2 separate regions of the Homo sapiens genome follow, and region 1 is linked to region 2. Evidence: promoter capture Hi-C in 16 types of primary human blood cells and fetal thymus (Javierre and others, 2016). All regions are on one chromosome and are shown on one strand. The core of a region is centred on a gene start or on the middle of the fragment in contact, and the rest is flanking DNA. Distances in the headings are between cores, read along the strand shown. Region 1 has its middle 23 kb from the start of SMTN. Region 2 holds the start of MORC2 (MORC family CW-type zinc finger 2).

Region 1 (4,652 bases), core at 1,615-4,114, 90 kb after region 2:
GAAAATTCAGACAGCCAGAGGCTTTTCTGCACACTTAGTGAAAACTCATTCAGGAGCAATATCTGACCTGGATTGACTGAGGGTGTGCAATCTGTTCATTTCACTTAGAGTCAATACTCACACTTCTAGCTACAGAAATATTCGTATGTTTCATTGGAGATGGATGGATCCAGACCCCACTGGATTACCTTTTAAAATCTAAAAAAATCCTGAATTCTGAGGCTGGGAGCAGTGGCTCATGCCTGTAATCCCAGCACTTTGGGAGGCCGAGGCGGGAGGATCACTTGAGCCCAGGAGTTTGAGGTTGCAGTGAGCCATGACTGTGCCACTGCACTCCAGCCTGAATAACAGACCGAGACCCTGGCTGAAAAAAACAAAAATGAATTCTGAAACCTATCCAGCCACAAGTGTGTTGATCAGGTCTTATGGGCCTGAGGCACCTGCCTCTAGCCTGTTGGGAAACTTACTGAGCGACTGCCTTCTGCTAGAATGTCAGCCCCCAAGGACAGGGCTTAACTCTGTCCCCGATGTGTCTGCAGCAGCCAGTGCAGTACCTGGCATGTAGCAAGCACCCAAACAATAGTTCTTGAATCTTTAGCTGAAGTTATTCATCCCCCATACATGCCATGGTGGTGAATATGGGAAACTGAGGCCCAAGCCTCTGAGCTGGTCTGCCCTAGATCTTTTCCCACAGATGATGTTCTGACTTTCCCCCCAAAAAGGTAGCTGTTCACCTTTCTCTGCCAGCAGCTCACAAACAGCTTGATGACCCCCCTCCAACATTCCAGGGCAGCTGGCTGGTTTTGCGGGCACCAAAGAGTTTTCTTTGGCTAAAGGTTCAGCCGATTAAAAAAGGGGGCCCCCATGCATTAAAGCTGGGGGTGGGGAACGGGCAGTCACAGAGTAGAGTAGGGGCTGAAGGTGTCATTAAAGCTCGGGTCGGGGGAGTGGAAATGGAATCTGCTAGCTGGCCTGAGACTAAAAGCCAGATCCCTGGATCCTTCCAGAGGACTATGAATGTGCTAGTCAGGCTCTGCCTTAATCCTAAAGCTGGAGAATTATCCAGACCCATGAAGAGCTGCCAGGAAGAAAAAATTCCTCCCCAGTGTGGTCTGCCCTACCCCCACCTTCCATGGTGCCCTGAGAAACTCCCTTTTCCTCTCTTGGCTTCAACATAATGGAGTTGGAGAATCCAAGACAGTGGATCAGAGCTCCTGAGATCATGGACTTAGACTCAGGTTCAGGCCCAGACTCTTCCTCTTGCTGGGCAAGGAGCTAGGGCAAGTCAATTTCAAGCCTTAGTTATCACATCTGTAAAATGGCACTAAGTTAGAGGGATATTGTCCAGATGACTGTGTCTGGTACATAGTAGCAATAAAAAAGACATTAGCTGGCCAGGCATGGTGGCTCACGCCTGTAATCCTAACAATTTGGGAGGCCAAGGAGGGCGGATCACTTGAGGCCAGGAGTTGGAGACCAGCCTGGCCAACACAGTGAAACCCTGTCTCTACTAAAAATACAAAAATTAGCTGGGCATAGTGGCTTGTGCCTGTAATCCCAGCTACATGGGAGGCTGAGGCAGGAGAATTGCTTGAACCTGGGAAGTGGAGGTTGAAGTGAGCCGAGATCAGGCCATTGCACTCCAGCCTGGGTGACAGAGCGAGATTCTGTCTCAAAAAAAGAGAAACATTAGCTAATATTACCCTCAGCATGGATACTCCTACCAGTCTGATGTTCTGTTTTAGGTACTTCGTACCATCATAACCTCATTGTTGGAGCACTCACTATGTTCCAGGTACTACGCTAAGTGCTTCACAAGCATTCTTTCATTTCATCCTCCCAACATCTCTCAAATAGGTACTAGCACTGTCCTCACTATTCAGGGGAGAAGTCTGCGGTTCAGAGGGGTGAAGTGATTCCTCTAAGACTGCATAACTTGTAAGTGGCAGAGCTAGGACCTGTCAGACTCTAAGCGCTTCATACCACACCTACAGGAAATATCTAGCAGCCAGTTCCATGCTCAGTTTCTTGAAGCATGAGATTCCAGGCCCCTAATATGGCATGTGACTGTGGGCAGTACAGAGGCCTCAATTCTCCCATCTGAACCATGGGGAAGGTCCCCCCGCCCTGAATCCCCTACAGGGCTGAGAGGAGGGCTCTGGAAACCTTGAAAAGGACTTTGTAGACTCTGAGCTGGGCACCCTCAAAGGCTTGGTTAGGAGGGAGACAAGAGAAAGAATTAATCCACTTCCCACCAAGGAAGCCAAGAGCTGAAGGAGAAATGGTCCGTGTCCTCCTCCAGGGCCTGCCCCTCAGCATGGTTCCTCCCTTTGTTAGGAGGGTTAAGAACTTGGCCAAGTCTCAGCTCCACTCATCTCTGGCTGTATGTTCTTTGTACTTCCCCTCTCTGAGTGTCGGGCTTCTCAACTGTGAAATGGGGGTGATAATGATAACAGCCTTACCAGGACTGTAGTAAGGACAAGCCTTGGCCCATTGGTTCATTGTCTTAGTCTGCTCCTGTTGTTATAACAAAATACCTCAGACTCAGTAATATATAAACAACAGAAATATGTTGCTCATAGTTCTAGAGGCTGAGAAATCCAAGAACAAGGTGTCAGTAGATTGGGTGTCAATGAGGGCCTGTTCCTCATAGATGACGTCTTCTATGTCTTTACATGGTAGAAGGGGTGAACAAACTCCCTCAGGCTTCTTTTATAAGGGCACTAATCCCATTTATAAGGATGGAGCTTCATGAAGTGATCGCCCCCAAAAGTCCCACCTCTTAATACTACCACATTGCAGATTACGTTTCAATATATAAATTGGAGGAGACACATTGAGACACATGGATATTGGTTGAATAATTATCTTTCTTTTTTCTTTTTTTTTTTTTGAGACAGAGTCTTACTCTGTTGCCTAGACTGGAGTGCAATGGCACGATCTTGGCTCACTGCAACCTCTACCTCCTGGATTCAAGTGATTCCTCTGTCTCAGCCTCCCAAGTGGCTGGGATTACAGATGCATGCCACCATGCCTGGCTAATTTTTGCATTACTAGTAGAGGCAGGGTTTCACCATGTTGGCCAGGCTGGTCTCAAACTCCTGACCTCAAGTGATCCGCCCACCTCGGCCTCCCAAAGAGCTGGGATTACAGGCGTGAGCCACCATGCCTGCCCTGAATAATTATCTTTTGACACCTGGTCTGCAATTCTCATGGAGTTTCCGGTCTGGAAGAAGAGTCTGTATGTAATGTGTTTGGCACAGGTAGGTGCCCAATGGGTGGGTAGATGGATGGATGGATGGATGGGTGGATGGATGAGATGAGTGACTTACTGCAGGTCTCACAGTTATAAAGTAACTCTTCCTGATAGCTCACACTGGCCACCAAAGACACATTAAGCACTGATTAGAGAGGTACTCCATGGACCAAATTACTTGAGCAAAGTCTTAGAATTAGGAATTATTGCAGCATGGATAAGAGGCATTCATTTTATGTTCTCTTTTAGTATTTTTCCCAACAAGATCCTGAGAAGGAGGATCTGGATGGAGGTTCTGCCAGAGCCCCCTGGAGCAGAGCCAGGAAGTTGAGTAGGGAGTAGCGCCCCACAGCCCATATGAGCAGGCAGGAGCAGGCCAAGCCTGAGGGTCGGGCCTCAGAGGCCTGGCCTGGCCGTATTTAGTTTTCAAGGCACTGGAAGGCTTCTCACCTCCTCTGCTGTCCAGGCACAGAAGCAAGGCCACCCACAGTTGCTGAGTCAGGGAGGCCCCTAGGGCAGGAACAGAGGCCCCACAGTGGGGTAACTTGAACACAGTGGTTCAGAGCCTGGTCTCTGTCAAGAAGATATGGTGCTGGGAACAGTGGTGTGTCCCTGTGGTTCGCGCTCCTCGGAAGGCTGAGGCAGGAGGATAAGCCTAGGGATTCTTGAGCCCAAGAGTTCTAGGCTGTAGTGTACTATATTGATCGAGTGTCTGTGCTAAGTTCAGCTTCAATATGGTGACCTCCTGTAAGCAGGGGTGTCTAAGGAGGGGTGAACAGGCCCAAGATGAAAATGGAGCAGGTCAAAACTGTGCTGATCAGTGGTGGGATTGTGACTGTGAATAGCCACTGCATTCCACCCTAGACAACATAGTGAGACTCTGTCTCTAAAAGTAAATAAATAGGCTGTGCGCAGTGGGCTCACGCCTGTAATCCCAGCACTTTAGGAGGCCAAGGCAGGCGGATCACTTGAGGTCAGGAGTTCAAGACCAGCCTGGCCGATATGGCGAAACCCTGTCTTTACTAAGAATATAAAAATTAGCTGGTCATGATGTCATGTGCCTGTGGTCCCAGCTACTCAGGAGGCTAAGGCAGGAGAATCACTTGAACCCGGGAGGCAGAGGTTGCAGTGAGCTGAGATCACATCACTGCACTGCAGCCTGGGCAATGAGTGAGACCCTATCTCAAAAAAAAAATTAATTAAATTAAATTTAAAAATGTAAATAAATAAGTAAATAAATAAATAAAAGCTGTGGGTTCAAATCCTGCTCAACAACCAATAGCTGTGTGCCTGGCCTACATATCACCTATCAGAGCCTTTGTTTTCTTTATTTGTAAAAACAACAACAAAAATGGCGGTAAAAACAAGCACCATTACTGAGTTGGTTATGTACAAG
Region 2 (4,322 bases), core at 1-2,500:
TGTTGGATTCCTATAAACACTTGAATGAAACAACTCAACATATTGACTTCAAATAACTAAAGTTTGCATTTAGAAAATTTTGATCCAATAAACAAAAATCAGATTCTTCTGGATTAGCAACAAGTATTTCACTGATCTCAGTTCTTCAATACAGAGCTCAAGATATCCAGTGACACATTTCACTCCAGTGGGATACATCTCAAAAAGTGAAAAAGCAAAATTTTCTGGGGAAACGATTTCCATATAATATCAAGGAACGAGTTACTGGTTACCTCAGTGGCACCTAGAGGATACTTACGAATTTGTGTGCAGATATTCAAAGGTTAGCTGAGCTCGATTCAGACTGCTGTAATTTGTGAAAGCCATGACTGCAATAAGGTCTCCAGCCCTTCACCCGCTAACTGGGAAATATAACCTTATAATGATATCGATTTCCCAGGATTCTGTCCAGTAAAGCTTCAGTAAGTCTGTGCTCCTTAATGACAGTTAAAGTAACCTAGTAGCTATCCAAAATATATGCAGAGATGTTTAAAACTACAATTTCTTCAAGTGTTTTTTTTTAATCTTCTCAATGATTTATGATGTAATATTTTGGAAGGAACTATGTCATAAATCTGTAGCTTTAAGGAGCTTTTAGCATTAAGTTGCGATAGCTCAATTCAGACAATCTGAGTCTCGTGTGGATGGTCCTGAAGGAGATGGTCCTTGAGTGGGTGGTTTATGACTGCTCCATCTTCATGTTCTTCCAGCCTTTTTTGGTTCCCCGAAATTTCCTGTCAGGAAATTTACCAACGCGGAAATTTACCCACTTCTGTCAGAAAACTGATCAGCCATGTCTTCGCCACACGTGATGCCAGGATTCTTAAACAGGCCCAAGACCGGAGACCAAGATGTCGACGGAGTGTTATATGGCGCAAGTTGCAGCTTCACCACCTCCCAAGTGAAAAAGCTCCTAGGCACTCACGATTTCTTTTTTCAAAGCCGGACCAAACCCAGTTCAGGGTGGTGGTCAGATTACCTCACACTTGGCCCACATAAACACCTCACAAATGACCCGCCCACAGCACCTCGGGCAGGCCGCGCCCCGCCCCCACGTCCCTCAGACAACAGCCTCAGCCTCCCAGGCCCTTCCCGGGCCTCGGTCCCGTGGCCGCCTCCCCACGAAGAGGAGCTACTCCCGGCTTCCAAGGACCGGATCGAGGGCAGTGGCGAGCGCACCACCTGACCGGGCACTACCCGGATCTCACAACTGCCTTTGTCCCTCCCCGCGGAATTGGAACCCAACAGCCGCAGAGCGCTCTTGGAACCATGTGCTGCTGCCGCCTCCGCCGCCGCCGCCGCTGCCTCCGCCGCCGCCCGCGCGCCGCCCGCGCGCCGCGCTAGTTGAGATGGTGACAGGATTCAGCAACACGAAATTCGGCGTTTAGAGCTGCTCTGCCGCCGCCGTCACAGACACCACAGCCACCGCTTTGTCTCCGATAGTGCACACAGCCCCGGCCACCTCGCACACTCCCCGACGCCCCAAGCCCCCGAGGCCTCCGCGGAGCATTCAGCCAATCACAAAGCTGCAGCTCCTCCCGCCCCCGCCCTGATGTACAGCCTCCTGATTGGCGGGCTGCGTGTCCCCATGTGACCGGATCTTGGTTGGCCGGTCCCGCCCCTGTCACGTGACAGCGTGCGCCTCTCTTCCTGCTTTCCTGACCCTCTCCGCCATTTAAAGAAACAGTACCGGGGGCGGGCCGAGCGACGCAGCCGGGACGGTAGCTGCGGTGCGGACCGGAGGAGCCATCTTGTCTCGTCGCCGGGGAGTCAGGCCCCTAAATCGAAGAAGCCCTGGCGCGCCCTCCCCCCCTCCCGGGTCTGGTAGGGCGAAGGAACGGGCGTGCGGTCGATCGAGCGATCGGTTGGCGGCTCTTTCTCCTGCTCTGGCATCCAGCTCTTGGGGCGCAGGCCCGGCCGCCGCGGCGCGCGCCCGGTGGCCGTTGGCGCTCGCGCCGCGTCTTTCTTCTCGTACGCAGAACTCGGGCGGCGGCCTATGCGTTTGCGATTCGACGAGGAGTCGTCCGGGTGGTCGGCGGCGGCGGGCAGCTGCTCCGCCCCGCTCCGGGGGAGGCGGCGGCGGCAGCGGCCGCGGGATTTGGAGCGGCCGGGGAGGCGGGGGTGGCCGGGGCCGGCTTGGAGGCCTGGCGCCACCCTTCGGGGCCTGCAAGGACCCAGTTGGGGGGGCAGGAGGGGGCCGGAGGATGGTTGGTTGTGGGATTTCTACTTTGCCTTTTCCTCCTTATGCCGCCTTAGTGAGGGGCGGGAGCTCTGGCGGCAGCCCCGGGGTGGGGAGACGAGCTCCGGAGTCGGAAGAGCTGGGTTTTCTTCCGGGCCTAGCCACCAGTTGGCGGAGTGACCTTAGGCGAGTCACTCTGTAATTTGTCTGCGCCTCAGTTTCCTCCTCTGCCTATCAATGTGTGTGGGGTTGAAATCGCTTTGTAAACTATAAAGCGTGGGTGTACGTAAAGGATGGTTATTGTTTATAATTTTTTTTGAGTTGTAAGAAAACTTAGCAGTTCCCCAATCCTTGGGTTTTGAACCTGGGAACCTTGGATTGGAGTTGGGGATCCCCAAACTTCCTGAAATTGTGGGAATGTGCGGTTTGGGGGAATGATGGGAATTTGTGGGAATGTGCGTTTTAGGGGAATGATGATCCATCGCTAGCAAGTTTTCCAAGGGGGCTGTGACCCAGAAGAGTTAAGAATCACAATTTCTTCATGCTACAGAGAGGAAACTGAGGCCTAGATGTCATTTGGGACCCTTCACAACCATTTTGAAGCCCTGTTTGAGTCCCTGGGATATGTGAGCTGTTTCTATGCATAATGGATATTCGGGGTTAACAACAGTCCCCTGCTTGGCTTCTATTCTGAATCCTTTTCTTTCACCATGGGGTGCCTGAAGGGTGGCTGATGCATATGGTACAATGGCACCCAGTGTAAAGCAGCTACAATTAGGAGTGGATGTGTTCTGTAGCATCCTATTTAAATAAGCCTATTTTATCCTTTGGCCCGTCAACTCTGTTATCTGCTGCTTGTACTGGTGCCTGTACTTTTCTGACTCTCATTGACCATATTCCACGACCATGGTTGTCATCCATTACTTGATCCTACTTTACATGTCTAGGCTGTGTGGTTGGTGGTGAATAGGCTTCTTTTTACATGGTGCTGCCAGCCCAGCTAATTAATGGTGCACGTGGACTTTTAGCAAGCGGGCTCACTGGAAGAGACTGAACCTGGCATGGAATTCCTGAAGATGTTTGGGGTTTTTTTCTTTCTTAATCGAAAGTTAACATTGTCTGAAAAGTTTTGTTAGAACTACTGCGGAACCTCAAAATCAGTAGATTTGGAAGTGATTCAAAGCTAAACTTTTTCCTTGGCCCTCCTTGTGTTCTAATTGCTTGCAAGTGTAATACTAGGATGTCCAAGATGCCAGTTTTTGCTTCTTTGTTAGTTGTCAGCTGCTTTTATCAAATTTCAGGCCATTATCCAACAAACACTATAAAAATGTTTGAACAATTGGATTTCAAACATTTTCGTTTTGTGGAGTGGTGCTCACCAAGTGGTACAGCCCTAAGCAAGTGAACACAAACACATTTAAGTGTATTTTGTCTGATTAGATGTTAGCCAGTTATGCTATTTCATTCAAATGTCTGAAAAAATCAATTGACTATTCCCTTTTCCTAAAGGGCAGAGACAGATAATCTCACTTCCAGAGAAATGACTTGGAGAAAAAAAAGTGTTGGTCTTTTTGCTCTTTTGTAATTAAATCCGGATGTACCTCAAAAGACTTAAGACTGTGGTGATAAGATGCTTTCCTCAGCAGAAAGGAGGGAAAAAAAACAACTGGAACTCAAAGCTTGAAATTCTGTGGCAAAACATGAGATGTCCAGGATTGGAGGTTGAAAAGATTTCACTACAGTGTTCTGCAATAGTTGGAGCAGATAACTTTCAGTGTAGCCACAGCCATGGACTCCAGATTTCCAGATTTTCAAGACCTGGACCTGGAACCCGAAAGAGCTTGTCACGATGCGGCAGGAACACTGGAGGTAGATTTTTTTTTATTTTTGAATTTTGGGACTGTTGACCTTGCTGTGAGAAAAGAGACAACGACTGAGCAAGCACTACCACCAGCACTGTTACTGGGAATTAGAAGACCTGAGTTTCTGTCCAGACCCTCAGTGCAAACTGAGGATGCTCCATCCAAAGTGAATTATGGTACTTGCCATTTTCCAAAATGCCTTATCCTTTACCATCTCTGCACTTTTGTTCATACTCTCATTC

Evidence for each region. The method cuts DNA at HindIII sites, captures the fragments that hold promoters and counts their contacts. A CHiCAGO score of 5 or more calls a contact.
Region 1: a fragment that was not itself captured here is called in contact with the fragment with the promoter of MORC2 in region 2 in 2 of 17 cell types (megakaryocytes and endothelial precursors); the score reaches 8.4 in megakaryocytes.

The regions. Positions count from the first base shown.
Region 1 is chr22:31,056,142-31,060,793 of GRCh38, forward strand. It overlaps the pseudogene RN7SL633P. Among named protein-coding and RNA genes, the nearest start is that of SMTN, 23 kb to the right of the region's middle. The HindIII fragment of the contact is 9,959 bases long and covers 1-4,652 here.
Region 2 is chr22:30,967,524-30,971,845 of GRCh38, forward strand. MORC2 (MORC family CW-type zinc finger 2) reads right to left here and starts at 1,251. Exons shown (of 26, transcript NM_001303256.3): 1 at 299-1,251. The coding sequence starts at 366. TUG1 (taurine up-regulated 1) reads left to right here and starts at 1,742. Exons shown (of 3, transcript NM_001396518.1): 1 at 1,742-4,256. The coding sequence starts at 1,834. The coding sequence ends at 2,295. RefSeq lists an enhancer at 1,653-1,982 and a silencer at 2,013-2,262. The HindIII fragment of the contact is 3,441 bases long and covers 455-3,895 here.